Linked DNA regions of Homo sapiens: region 1 is linked to region 2. The links are contacts of gene promoters, found by promoter capture Hi-C in human tissues and cell types (Jung and others, 2019). All regions are on one chromosome and are shown on one strand. Each heading gives the region's core, a stretch centred on a gene start or on the middle of the fragment in contact. The rest is flanking DNA. Distances are from core to core; before and after follow the strand shown.

Evidence for each region. The method cuts DNA at HindIII sites, captures the fragments that hold promoters and counts their contacts. A contact is called where the count stands out against the background at its distance.
Region 1: a fragment that was not itself captured here is called in contact with the fragment with the promoter of FMNL2 in region 2 in 3 of the 25 tissues and cell types used here (aorta, dorsolateral prefrontal cortex and hippocampus).

The regions. Positions count from the first base shown.
Region 1 is chr2:152,379,933-152,387,564 of GRCh38, reverse strand. The region is part of intron 1 of FMNL2 (formin like 2); the gene reads right to left. Among named protein-coding and RNA genes, the nearest start is that of FMNL2, 49 kb to the right of the region's middle. The HindIII fragment of the contact is 5,401 bases long and covers 292-5,692 here.
Region 2 is chr2:152,332,803-152,340,349 of GRCh38, reverse strand. It overlaps FMNL2 (formin like 2), which reads right to left and starts at 5,176. Exons shown (of 26, transcript NM_052905.4): 1 at 4,630-5,176. The coding sequence starts at 4,746. RefSeq lists silencers at 4,117-4,216, 4,727-5,376. The HindIII fragment of the contact is 5,547 bases long and covers 1,873-7,419 here.

The sequences.
Region 1 (7,632 bases), core at 1,743-4,242, 49 kb before region 2:
TAAGCAGGGCTTGATAAGTCACAACTTTCCCCTTGATAAGTCATAATTATTTTATAACTTTTATATTTCATACATTTATAGAAAAAAATTAAATTTGTTTTGTGACTGATAGTTCTTAATTACAACATATTAGTTTTAATCTAATCACACTCCGTACTCAACAAGTCAGCAGGCAATTAAATCTAACAAACATTTATCAAAGGCCTACTACAAAGCAAGGCCCTGGGCTGGTGTCTGCCATTAAGAAAAGCATCTGTCTACTGTGGAAACAGGCTAGCCACTCATCCAATAGGGATAACACAAAATTATCATTATCAGCCACAATGTGGTCTGTTAAACTAAAACTTTACTGGGAGCTTGGCAACAGCACACTATAGATAACAGTTGGGCTTTGGTTTTTAACCCAGATCTTCTACAGTATTTATATACTGTGGTTGCCTACAAAGCAATGAAGAGCTCATTTCTACTTCCCAGGAATGGTTTAATCCCAAGACAGGCCACACTTTTTCATGAAATATCTATGAACCAGTCCTCCCTCATGACCTTTTTCTTTTAAATCATCATTCCTCAAGCGTCTTGGAGGAATGGTGAAGGGCAAGGGGAATCTGGGAAGAAAAAACAGCAAACTTTGCCCAGGGGAGTCTCCTAGACTCCTAAAGCAACAAAGGTTTTCTCTACCTTTGTTGAGATAAATTAAAACCATTTTGAAAGCAGAATCTACTTCTTCCGGCATTGCTACTTAACATATTTAATTAGACTATGGTGAATAACACATAAATGGGGAGGCGGGATGCCAAAAGACAGTGATGACTTGTTTCTGAGTTTATCCAGGTCAATGAAAAACACCTCTGTGTAAGAAATCTCCAGGCCTCAAGGTAATAACATCAAATCAGACAGACAATGAATTGCTGAAAATGTAGGGTCATGAAAGTCCTAGAGGGAAAACAGATAGACACATATAAGGTGAAAAGCATGAAAATCAAAGTAAAATAACAAGCAAAGAAAGCTGCTAATGAAAAAGTTGTCAGCTAAAGCCTAGAGTTTGAATGAGTTAATGAATGGTCAAAGGACTTACCACAGGCACTGACTCCTCCAAGTGAAGAGGTATTTAAAATCACATAACTTATTAACTGCTATGGTAAAACATTCTCAGGGAGAAGATGACAAGACAAGTGGCAACAGCAGAAATTCCCTTTAAAAAATCAGGGTCTCTATAAGAGCTTTACATTGAATGAGGTCTGGACCACACTCCCACTTACAGATCAAGAATCCAAGTGTGCACCCGGGATTACAGTGAAAGGATAAGACTCTGTACTTTGTAATTCTCCCTTTCACTGAGAGCACTGGGGATTGCATTCTACAATAGCCCCCTTGAAGGTGCTGGGAATAAATCTCAGCAGGGTATGCTAGGAGAAAGAGAAGCTCATTTCATTTCCTCATTTGCCCAAAACTAACCTATCTTCTATTGTCACCAACTATGGAACCTTTCCTGATACTCTTATGTTTAAAGCTCCCAAGAAAGGCAGGGAACCTGATGCAGAAGCACAGATGTTGTCTGCAGGACTGAGTATATCCCTCTTAGACTTAGGAAGCAGACAGCATATCCAGGAGAGGTGAAAGAAAGATAAATCAAGGCATTGCTGACAGCCTTTCATTACAATTTGGCAGCCAACCTGCTCAAGCATTTTCACATGGGTAAGTTGATCATCTGAAAAAAAATCCATGGCATAAGAACACAATTTAAGCCTTCAGAGCAAACATTTTGATAGTTCTCATAAGTCATTTAAATAAAAACTTCATGAACAAACCACAAAGCATGTGACTAAAACCCCAATTAATAGTAGAAAGCAGTACACACTGACAGATTTCTATGGCAAACTTCTGCAGAGACCAAATCAGTTGAATGCAACTTTGCCCCTCAAGCAGATATACTTTTGCCTTATCTTACCTTTTCTCAGCCAAGATTTCCCCAGCTCCCTAATTCAAACTCACCAGGACAGTGAGCATTATATGACCATCTGGTCGACAACATATTACACATTCATAGGGCATGGTTCTAATCACGGCACAGTTTAAACCACCACCATAGATCTCAGCAAGGTCCTCCTAAATGGAAGAATTTTATATTTTGCCTTTTAAATGGTTTTTATTGGAAGCATATTTGTGAGAACACTAAGACGTAAAAGGCCTCTGAGCCTGAGCTCATTTTCCCATCCCCAGCCTCCCTCCCTACAAACTGCCTTCTATGAATGGGATTCTATTTCATCTTTACTCTCTGCAAGAGAATGTACCTGCCAACTGATGTCAAGAACAAATCACTTCATCCCCAGTTTCGATGCTGCTGCATTCTTGGGCACTTGTGTTCTTTTAGCACCAAAAAGAGTTGCTTCATGGTTCAAGGGTCACTGTTAACTCTTTTAACAAATAGGCATTAACAGAATACAGGAGCAATCCCACACTTTGTGGGGAGGGTGTCTCCCTGGAGCCTCTAGATTAAAATTCTCATTACTAAAGTCACCAAGGAGTTAGACAAAGATAGGGAGCATGGCCTCGGAGTTTCTTGCTAAAAAAGAATTCTTCCTCTAATACATTTATGGATATTAGCTACACTAACATGGGTTAGTTTACTAGGTTAGTTGATTACTGTGTTAGGATGAGGAGACAAAGTGTCATTGAAGAAACAAGAAACCAAATCTAGAGTGTAGCTATTTTTTCTTACTTTAATGAAGCAGCAGAGAGTTTGAAAAAGATTTTAGAAACGTGTGCAGGCTCTGGACCAGGGAAGGCCAATCTTAGCTGAAAATATAATGGCCCCCACCAGAAGCCCTTGCATTCCAAAATTCAGATACAAGCTTCCTAAATCCCAAGATGCCCCAGGATGAAGGCGCACTCAAGGGACCCAGGCAGGCTGCCTCCACTGAACCGAGGAGAAGAGTCCACCTTTCAAGCACGATGTTTGAAGGATGCTCTTTCACTCAGGAAGCCTGAGGGAAGGCTTTGCTTCTGTCCTGGGAAACCAATCACTGATCAAGAGTACTCTCCTGCCCTCTCACTAATGTCAGCCATCAAATGGACCATATCTCCCCACCAGCTGAGTTCTACCCACAGTCATTCCATGGCCTAGCCCCTATCCTGGCCAGCAATATCGATGTCTACACCCCAATGCCCAGGCCCTACCTCAACATCCCAAACTTCTGCTAGACCACAGGGGCTGGTAATCCAGACTCTGGAGTGAGGACAAGTCATGAGAAAAATAAATTTAGGAAAATGTGTAAGTACAACTTAAGTAACAAACAGAAAATGGACTTTGGAGTCAGCCAATCCTTGTTTCCAACCTGAGTACTGCCACTATCACAAAACTTTGAGCAAATTATTTTACTCCTCAGAATCAGTTTCCTCACCTGGAAAATAAAGATAAAATGCCTACTTTGCAGAGCTGCTACGAAAACTTAAAAAGATAAATATACACAAAGTAAGCATTCACAAAAATAGAAATCAATACCCTATTTCTTTATTATATGAAAGGGTAATTCCAAATGCATATAAGCCAAGAGTGAGATTTTTACTAGACATAGTTCCTACAGTACAACTCTAGAAATGTAAGGGATGAGATCTGTATAACATATGGTAGCTCCCCAGATGTAGAAAAATATGCACATACAGTTTTACAAATTCCTAGTTTATGATGTCAAAATTCTCTAAATAAAACAGATGCTAATCATCAAACTGATGATGACTTCTCCTCATTTCTTTGCCATAAATAAAACCCTTGAAGACTAAATAAATGCCTTAACTTATTTCCTCTAAGTTTGGGGATGGCTAGGGTTTCCTCAATGGCTTTCTTTGGTTTCCAGGGTTAGCTGCTGTGGTAATTTTCAAAGAGCACCAAGTTTGCTATAACCATTCTGGATATATAATAACAGTAAGATATTATTATAATTATGCCATTATTAATAGCAGCTACCTTTTATGAAATATTTTTTGGTTTTTTGATTTGAAACAGGGTCTTATTATGTTGCCCAGGCTGGTCTCGAACTCCTGTGTTCAAACTATCATCCCATCTCAGCCTCCCTAGTAGCTAGGACTACAGACATGCACCACCACGCCAGGTTACTCTTACGGAACATTTTAAGCTTACAACATGCTACATGAAGACAATTAGCATTACAATAAACAATTAAACTCCAAAAAAGAAAACTAAATTTATCTTATAAAAGGAAATCACAAAACCCAAAGTTAGAGCCTAATACACTATTGCCCCCTAAACTACAAAAAAAAAAAAAAAAAAAAAGGATTAACGGAAGTGTCCACACCTAAAAAGTTTCCACTAGATTCCCAGAGCCCTCTTGCTTTATCCTCCTTCCAGTGTTTCCAAGGGAGGTAAATTTAATATCCGCATCTCTCCCAGAAATTAAAACTACCTCTCTCTCTGCCCTATTTGTTGGTCTCTCCCTCACCACACTCCTATTTTTTTAAGCCAGTAACTTAGTCGTTTATGATCATTATCAAGTATTATATACTGAACATAATTGTATGTGTTCTCCATTTGCAGCACAGTAGGTTTGTTTACACCAACATCACTACAAACACGTGGGTAATGCATTGCCCTATGTTAAGGCAGCTACAATGTCACTGGATGATAGGAATTCTCAGCTCTATTATAATCTTGTGAGACCAGTTTGTTGTCCGTTTTTGATGGAAATGTTATGTGGCTCATGACTGTATTATTTATTGAATATTATGGACACACTTCTATTTTTTCCCCAGCTTTATTGAGGTATGACTGACAAGAATTATATATATAATAAAGGTGTATGTGATTTTTTTATATAAGTTTATATTGTGAAATGATTACCACAATCAAGCTAATTAGCATTATCTATCACCTCACATCGTTTCCTTTCTTGGTGTGGGTGTGTATGGTGAGACCACTTGAGATCTACTCTCATTGCAAATTTCAAGTCCATAATACATTAAGAGCCCTAAGAATGCAGTTAAAAGTTGAAGCCAAAAGTGACTCTTTAGCCTCTATTAGCATCAGGATCTTTGTGGAGGCAAGTGGACCCTCTCTCAGCCCTTCTTGAGATCTGCTTTTCTCACCAGGAAGCACTGAAAATTAGAAAAGACCTCCCACACTTGATTATCAAAAACCTCCCAGAATCTTCTACTGAAGAAGCCAGGCTCTCTCACATCAGAACACCCAGAGGAAACAAAGACACATGCGCTTTCCTTAATGACGCCTCTCCTTTGACCCAATGAAGAGAAATCTACCACAGAAGCAAATGTAATTGGCTGGCACAAAAACTTCCGCACAAAAATGGAGCACAATCTACGAGTGAGTTGGTTCTTTGGGTACCATTAATGTGTGTTTCTATTAAGTATGTAACTTTCAAAAGTATATTTACCTCCTATTAAGTGCTTCAAAAAGTGAAACAACATGGTTAAAACCGGTATGTAAAGATTCTAGGCCAGGCATGGTGGCTCACTCCTGTAATCCCAGCACTTTGGGAGGCTGAGGCGGGCAAATCACTTGAACCCAGAAGTTCAAGACCTGCCTGGGCAACATGGTGAAACCCCATCTCTACAAAAAATACAAAAATTAGCTGGGTGTGATGATGCCTGCTTGTAGTTCCAGCCTCCTCAGGAGGCTGAGGTGGGCAGATCTATTGAGCCTGGCTGCAGTGAGCCGTGATTGTGCTACTGTACTCCAGCCTGGGCTGGAGGAGATCCTATCTCAAAAAGAAAAAAAAAAAAGTTCTGCTTTGCTGTTTGTTATGCTAACTAATCAAGAGTTATCGAGTTTCTTAAAGCAGTACATTTAAAGCATTACTGCATTTTAATTTCTTTTTAAAAACTGCCACAGCAACTGCGTTTAGTACAGCAGGCAGGAAGTTCACAGGAACAATTCTCTATTTCCCTGTGAGATGCATTTTTAAAAGTAAAACAAACCATCATTTCAGAATTCAGAATAAAGACTGTGACTCTCATGACCCCACACAGAGCGGAAACCCTAACGACAGGAATATTAAACCATTTTCCATTCTGCTCTTTTTGATGAAGAGAAGAACTTCAAATATGATCTCTGCTGTGAACAAAGATATTCAGACAAGAAGCTCCTCTCATTGTCTCCCCAACAGTTAGCATCCCTGGAGATCTGGCTTTCCCTTCTGGAAGAGGGCACAGGCAAGTATATTTATGAGCTCGTATGTCACAAACTCGTCTGTTCAGGGAAACCCTGGACACCAAGCTGAAACGTATGAAATATGCCATGGCAGAAATTTTCAAAAGTCTTTTGCTCTCATAATTTCGACCTCTCAGGCTATCCATCTTCTGTCAACTAAAACCTTAGGTAATACCAGTCTCACATGCTTAAATAAATCCCAAAGCAATACAAAAAATTAGTCAGGTGTTACCAAACTCTGATAACAAATATGTTGTGATCAATATCCTTTCATGAAATTTGGTCAGATTAACAACTCTTGGTTTCAAAACAAGGCTTCTTTTACATCATTTGAAATAAAGAGAAGAAAAGGAAACTCTACTTATTAGGCACCTAGCAAAAGCCATTCCTAGGCATTATATACATTTTCCTACTTAGTTATACTAAGTTCCCATTTTGCTTATGAGAAAATGAAGGCTCAGTTTAAGTCACCTGCCATAAACTGAACAGCCATAAACTGATACAGCCAGTCTCATCTCACTGTCGCCACCCTGCATGCTCTTAAACTAGAACGGTCTTACAGACACTAGCTATAATGCAGCTCTAGCCCAACAGGCACTGTATAAAACAAACTCCACAGACACCTGCAAACCAACTATACTGGGTGTATAGAGCAGGAAAATAAGAGTTTTCTCAACTGATTCAAATGTTAGATTACATATGCTAGCTATGAGCTCAGCCTAGAAGGGTAGGTACAGCGAGTAATCCATTAGGAGACAGCCAAAGCCAAGGAAAAAGGGCATTCTAGCTAAAGGGGAAAACCTGAGCCAAGGTGCAGAGGTGGGAGAACCCAGAGTGTATGGAGAACAATGAGCAACTCCTTCACTTCGCTCTGGCTTCTCAGTGCCAAAATTGTGAAACATTTTAAGGACACAAGCATGGCAAGAACTTGTAAGAACTGACTACACACAGTTAGGAATGTGTGGATACAACACTGCTGTCTTAATAAAGATCAGAAAGAGATAAATCATTTGAAGGTATTTTCACTTTTTACAAAATATTTCAGTTGCTACGTCACCACAAGCAAAAAGCTTTCCAAGGCTCACCAAGGTTAACAATAGGCTGCCTTTGGTTCAAACACATTTGTAAAAAATGTTTCATTCAATCAGTACAGTATTTATTGAATGCTTTCTATGTGCCAGGTACCATGCTAGATGCAAGAGATACAAAGATGAACTAACCTTATTCTTGGCTGCTCAAAGCCCAGGATGAGATGGCCACAAAAATTAAAATGTGATGAATGCTATAAAAATAGCAGTAGAGAATGACTAGTATCAATTAACCAGATAGATCCATGTTGAAAGAGTAGCCCCAGAAACTATTCACTATTCCGTCCACATCTAGGCCTATCTTTGATATAACTGAATCTATTTCTAGTTTATATGTTTGAAGGCACCTTAATAAATTCTCAC
Region 2 (7,547 bases), core at 3,927-6,426:
TAGTCGCAGGCCCTTTTTTTCTTCCCAGTTCTAAGCCTATGGAAGCATAATATAAAAGAAAGGCCAGGGGGAGTAGGGAACAGATCCAAATCTCTGCTGAAAGACTAGATTGGTTATTTAATAACTGTATAATTTTAGGCAACTTAGATATCTTTTTCTTTTTTGAGACCTGGTCTTACTTTGTCACCCAGGCTGGAATGCAATGGTATGAACACAGCTCACTTCAGCCTCGACCTCCAGGACTCAAATGATCCTCCCACCTCAGCCTCTTGTGTAGGTGGGACTACAGGTGCAAGCCACCACACCTGGCTAATCTTTTTTTTTCTTTTTTCATAGAGACAGGATCTCACTATGTTGCCCAGGCTGGTCTCGAATTCCTGGGCTCAAGTGATCCTCTCACCTCAGCCTCCCAAAGTGCTGGGATTATAGGGGTGAGCCACTGTGCCCAGCCTAAATAATCATTACTTATGCATCTATAGTATTGCTGATAGCATTAGTTACTGTGAGCATTAAATGAGAACATGTAAAAGGCCTACTCATAGTAGATACTCAGAAAATGTTCCCACTCCTTCCTAAAACAAAATGACCACATTCAATCTCAGGACATGCAGAAAAAAAATGAGAAGGAAATGGACTCAAATTAATCAGATACCAAAGCAGTTCCTGATACCAAATATAATACTGCCCTAAACCATTACTTCCTAATAATTTTAAATCTGTTTGCAGTGCTGCCTGACACCTGATATTGCACAAGATACAGCAGCTAAGACACAGACTTAAAATTGTCCTTTCCTCTGAAACTCAACAAAAGAATTTTAAGGATAGCTCTTCAACAAAGGCATCCAAGGGTGTGCCTTTTAAGTTGTAAACAGTGACTGCAAGCCAAAAATGAGTGAATAATATTATGCAGTGTCTAATGTAGAAACAGGTATTCTCGGACAAAAACCATCAGTTGTTCACCACATCCACCCAGAACCACCTTCTTATCATCATCTTTAAAAATAAAAGACATGGGAGTATTTGTGGATGTGTGTATGTAACCCAGGATGTCCAATCTTTTGGCTTCCCTGGGCCACACTTGGAAGAAGAAGAATTGTCTTGGGCCACACATAAAATACACAAAAACTAACGATAGCCGATGAGCTTAAAAAAAAATCATGAAATAAATCTCATAATGTTTTAAGAAAGTTTATGAATTTGCGTTGGGCCCATGAGGCCCACAGGCAGTGGTTGACAAGCTTGATGTAACCCCCAAAATTAGACAATGGTTAATAAATACAATGGAGGGCCACATGGCTATTACAGATATGAAGAACCCCCAAAAAACACAGGCTAATATTACCTATGAAATATATACATCCTTACATCCTAAAAGAACAAAGATTGAAGTACGTGGCTGACTTTATAATTTATGAAACACTTCCATATAAATTATACATAGGTTAGAGTATAACAGAAACATTGCACATACACACACACAAAGGCATATGCATATATGTGTGTGTGTGTGTGTGTGTGTGTGTGTGTGTATCTCACCTTCCAGCTGTACCTGAAAGGTCAATACAGGGAAGCAAATGGTTTAAATGTATACACTAAGACAGTAATTTTTTCCCTTAAATGTAAGTTTTATAACTATTACTATAATGATACTGAAGATACCTATCCTTGGGAGGATTAAACTCCTAACACTGGGATCCAATTTTTGCTAGTCACTAACTCCATTTTTTTCTATTAAAAAGATTACTTTTCAAAGTTCACCCCTCTAGTCTTAATTCATTAGTCTTTTATTCTCTCATTTCCATTCATACCCACTAATTTTTTATATTCGCACAATTTAACCCATATAAACTGATGGGGAGGGAGGGTATAGTCATTGAATAGATTTGTTCTCTCTTAAGGCTTTCCTAACAAGAAATAAAATGGACTTTTGTCATTTTAATTTTTGTTTACTTCTCTCTGAGGCCTTAAATATTCTAGAGCTGGAAGTTGGGAGGAACTGTTCTCCTAGCTTGAAACAGTCTGTTAATTATTGATGTTAGCCATACTTACAATGAGGTGCTTAGACACTTTTCTATACGGTATTACTATCTGGTTTTCCTCCCAAAACACCCGTATGATCTTTATTATACAAGAAAGTTGAACTGGTATCAATAATGCCAACACAATTTCCATTGCCCTCCACATACATACTTAAAAATCTGCCACTTAAAACTTGTCCTTCAAGATTGATGTCCACAATTAAATGGTTTGAACTGATTTCTTAAGCAACTCATGAAGAAAAGCAAAGTTGAGATTATCACACACACAACTCCAGAAAAAAAAAAAAAACAAGAGAAATCACCAACACTGCGCACTTCTATTGGCCCACGGAGATGATCTGGAAGGTTTCAACTCCTCTCACAGATTGTCAAAGAGCAAGTGGAGCTGACCTGGGACAAGGAACGCATCAATGGTCCAAATGCGTCCCTAGGAAGAGGGTTCCCAAGCTGACCTGGTCCCCCAAAAGCTTTGTCTCTACTCAATAAAAGGTCAGCCTGGTATTGTTTTTGTTTCTTGATTGAGAGGCTTAGAATATTGTAAACAATTTTAAAAGGAATTGCACCCAGTAACTGCGACACACAGTAGTGTAAAAGTAGCCACAACAACCCTGCCCCAAGAAGCTTGGGATGTACAATCATAATTGTCTAAATACTATATTTGCAACTGCTAGCCTTAACAAGAACACAAATCCACCATGTTAATGATGGGACATTATTTTTCTAAAGATTAATTCACACCATGTGTTATTAATCAGCAGGGTAAATGAAAGCTCAAGCAAAAAAAAATGCTATCCTAGTCAAGCAGAACTTAATTGCATTATTGTTATTATTATGGCTGCTGCACTGGTTTCCCTGTGTCACTGGCTCCTCCACCACAAGTATTCAGACACACACACACACACACACACACACACACACAGAGCACCACAGCATGGATGGAAAAACAAAAAAGCCAGAGCCAGGAGGAAAAAAAGCCAGAGCCAGGAGGTAAGAACCATATGTCTAGTAGGAAGAGGGTTTTGAAGAAAAACGTTTGTCTCTGGAAAAGCAGGTCAAGTATGCACCCAGGCCGCCTTGAGAGTTATGCCTAGGCCGTTTCATTTCAGTGTCCCATCTTGCACAACGGTGGGAGCAGCTGTGGGAGATCACAGGAGATGCAAAGCAACACAAGCAACCTCATCTGTCTCCCCGACGGCCACACCAGAGTTTCCAGGTGGCGGGAGAGAGAGCTCAGTTCTCCCAAAGAGCACACAGCTAACCTGCCATCCAGAACATCACTTCCCATACCAAACCATTCCTTTTTCAAGGCCTGAAGGCAGGCAATTTGAACGTCCTGTAGCTGAGCACACCTCAGAAAACCGATTTTTGATCTAGAACTCGAGTCCTCTGCCAAAGTTCTAAGTTTTCATGAAAACAAAAGAAGAAAAGAAAACCCGCAGGCAGGCACAATCGTTGGCTGCCCGGATCACGAGTTTCCCTTGCTGCCTAGTCTTGTGGAGTTTAGAGGTAACCAACTAGGAAAAGAGAAGTGTCCAAGTGTCAGGAGTAGGAATGAGCCCAATCTCGCCTGTGTGTGTCCCTCCCAACATCCCTTAGAAGAGGCTGGGACACTAAAACTGGTAGTCTGGGGGACCAACAGCAGTCCAGATCCTGGCTGGGGCAAGCCGCCACACCCTCTGCAGCTCACAGCACAAGCCTCGGCTGGGAGGGGCCCAGACACTGTCCCAGCAGGAAAGGGAGAAAGAGGGGAGTTTTCAGAGTCCTGGATTTGAGGAGCTGGAAAGCTGGGAGAAGCGGAATGCAGGAGGGAGCGGGGGACCTGGCTGGGCGTGCAAGAGGAGGGGAGGGGTCGCCCGTGCAGTCAGGACAGCTCGCAACACGTCCCCGCAAAACTCCACATTTTTGTGGTTTAAGATTTAAGTCTAGAGGGAACGCGCTGAGGTTCTCCCCGGCCTGGGTTTCAGATGCCCCTGCTCCTCGCCAAGGGCCGGGGCGCCGCACTGCTGTGGGTCTCCGCTTTCCCTTTCGGGGAAGCTCCCCTTGGCCAAGCCGCGACGTGAGCCCTCCAAGTTCGCCTCCGCTCACCGCCCGGCGCGGCGCCCGCGGCCGGCCACATGCGCCCCATCTGCCGGGGACTTCGCAGGTCCCGGGCTGGCCGCCCGAGGGATGGTCCGCAGGGGCTCAGGGTGTTTTGTTTTGTTTTGTTTTGTTTTGTTTTTTTTAAAAAAAAAGCCTAAGCGGCTCGCCACCTCCTCCTCCCAGCCCGCGCCACCTTCTCTTCACGCCCACGCCGCACCTCCCGGGCACACGCGCCGTGAGGTGCCTCTCCAGCCAGACAATGGGTTCGAGGCTGGTTGGGCAGCCGGCCCTGAGCCCCCATCCCCATCCCGGGACCCCGAGAGACTGAGCGCGGGGGACTGCCAGGGGGGTGAAGAGGAGTGCTGGGGGGCCACAAAGGGGAAAGCGGGAGCCTCCCCCTCGGGAATGGAGGCTCGCTCCCGGCACGGGGTGAAGGGGAGGGGCGGGGGTCAGCTGCGCCGCCCGGCCCGGGGCCCCGGGTCCCCGCGCCCGACCGCCGCCGCGCACTTACCAGCACGATGGCAAATCGCTCCTCCAGTTCACCTGGCTCTGGCATCGGCAGCTTCAAAGGCACGTTGTGCGCCCTGAAATCGGTCTGCTGCGAATCCATGCTCCCTGCGTTGCCCATGTCGGCGGCGCGCCGGGGCCGGGGGCTGCTCCGGGCCCCTAGCGTGCGCGTCGGAAATCAGAACAGCTCCCGGCGGTCGGCTGCCGCCCGCAGGCGCGACCTGCCCGGCTCCCCGCCCTCCGCCGCGCCCAGGCGGGTGTGCGGCGCGCACCGCTCCCTAGCAGCGCTCCAAGCCGAGCCGCCCCCCGGCCTCCCTCATGCTCTCCGCCGCCCCAGCGCGGCCCCGGCCTCTTTTCCTCGGGAGGGGTAGTTGGGGCGCTGGGCGCCTATGTGCATGGTGCTCCGCTGGCACACCGCCCCCTGCCAGAGATCGCGGCCCCCGGCGCGTGGTCCCTCCTACTCGGCCTTCTGCCGGGCCCGCGGCCGCCGCTGACACTTCCAGCCCTAGCCGGCCACGGCTGCGCCTGCCTGGCTAGCACCTGGAGCAGACAAATGCAGCTCCGCGCTCCCCTACACAATGCCACCTCTCGCCCGGCGCCCGGCCCCCGCCCCCGGCCCGGCTCCGCCCACTCGCCCCGCGGACTGCCGGGACGCGTAGTTTCTCTCCAAAGTGTCCGCGCGCAGAAACCACGCCTGCTCTAGAGCGCCAGGCCGGGTTGGGACCATTTGCAGCAAAGGCGATCCGTAGTCTCTGGAGATAGCATATTGTCACTTTTGACCCTCCTCACCCCAACAGTGGAATACTTACATCGTGTATATCATGTTGACACTTGGTAGGCGGGTCTGACCATGACGGAATCGAATCAATGAATGAAGGAATGCATGCCTTCTGATTAAAATTCAGAAAATCGTTGCTGTTTTTAAAAGATCTAGTTCAGTAAGGAACTTCGAAAGCACTGGCAAAGTTCTGTTTCATAAACGGGGGGGTGGGTCCATGGGTGCTTGTTTATCGTTCTTTCTTCCATATATATGTTCTTTGGTGTGATTGAAATGTTTTATAAACAGATGTATAATTTATGGGTATATATAGTCAGACCCTAGGAGCTAGGTAAGGATTCAATTCAATTTAAAAAAAAAACCTGTCAAACACCTATTATGTATGGGATATTGTGTTCCTTGGTGGGAGAAAAAAGAGATTTGCCCTGCGCTGGAATACTTGCCAATCTAGTGAAGGAAAAAATGTACACACCCATATTTCATGTGAGATGGATATAATGATAGAGTGTTCTGGGAGACTTTGGGATGATCTTTGGCTGCAGCTCTCTTATTCCTTCACAGCAGTCTTGAGCAAGGTGTCTTACAGAAAAGATTGGACCTGACTCTGTCCTCTGGGGTGTATTTCAGACTATAACTACCCGTTCTGAAACCTCGGAAATAGAAATAGCCTTATAAGAGACTTTAGCCAACTGCTCATGTGAATGTTAAGGGCATACATCTGGTTGACTTGTGGCTGAACTTCTGCAGTTAGTCCTTTCTTAGTTTAAAGCAGTGTTTCTTAATCCTAGATGTGTATCAGATTCGCTTGGGAAGCTTTTTGTTAAAACTACACACACCTTGGGCTCTGCGTATTATCAGAATCTCCCTAAGCTGAGAGCCGAAGCCTGGGCCGGTGTATTTTCAACAAGCTCCCCAGGTGATTTTGATATGCAGGTAAGGTTGTTATCCTTTTAGTAAATAGCAAGTGTTTCTGGACAAGGTAGTACACCAAGATTCAATCAAGGACATTTCATTCATCTTTATAAACTTCAAGATACTTTAAACATAGTAGACGCCCAAGAACTATTTGTGGAATTGACAAGTGACTTTTTCCAAAAGCATATGACACAAATACACACAAATACATCATGTATGTTCTATTAAACCACTTCTAGTCTTTAAAGAATGGAGACAGTATAAATAAATTCAACTTAAAATTCTGAATAACTGTAACCTGTATTTCTAAAGCAGTGTTGTATCAAAGTTAATAGCAAATGTGTTACTGATCTGAGAGAAAAGCAGGGCGGTTTAGATACACACACACTCCAAACTAATGAAAATGAGAGAGAAAGAAAGCAGTTCGGACCAGGTGAAACATTTCTGACCCACAAATGTATTTATTTCCTTGTAATCTCTAGACATATACTTTGGATCTGATTGACTCACAAAATCAGCCCACCCAGAGGGTTGCCCATCTGGATAAAAAAGGCTGGAATTCTTTTCTGCAGTTGAGAAAGCCTTTTTGATTACATTTATGTCTCCCTGCGGCTATATTTCTGCCAGTAACCAAGACCTTTTTCTCCCCTTACGTCTTATCACATCTAGTCTCTCTCATAAGCTCACACTTCGAGGGAAGCCAAGGAAAAAGTGTGCAAATCTATGAACCAAAAGAACTTTCCTGCCATTTCAATGTTTGGAATCTCTAATATTTGGTTGTTATTTGTGATTATTAAGAGGAGAAATAAACACTCCATAGGCTTGTACAATTTCTATAAGAATCCATCAAAATCTTAGGAAATTCTTTGCGGGGAGACGGCATGGAGGGAAAGGAAAGAAAAGACATTTCTATTACCTTAATTGTAGCACTCTTCCTCCCCACAGAATTAAAATCAAGCAATCATTTAAAAATGTATATTCCATTTATTATTATTATTATATATGATTTGTTACAGCTCATGTGCAAAATATTGGCAAAAAAGAAAATGTCTGGGCCGGGCATAGTGGCTCACACCTGTAAGCCCAGCAGTTTGGGAGGCCAAGGCAGGAGTATTGCTTGAGCCCAGGAGTTTAAGACCAGCCTGGCAACATGGAGAAACTCCATCTCTAAGAAAAATGCAAAATTATTAAGAGACAAAAATGGCGAAGTATGATCTTCCAGGTACACT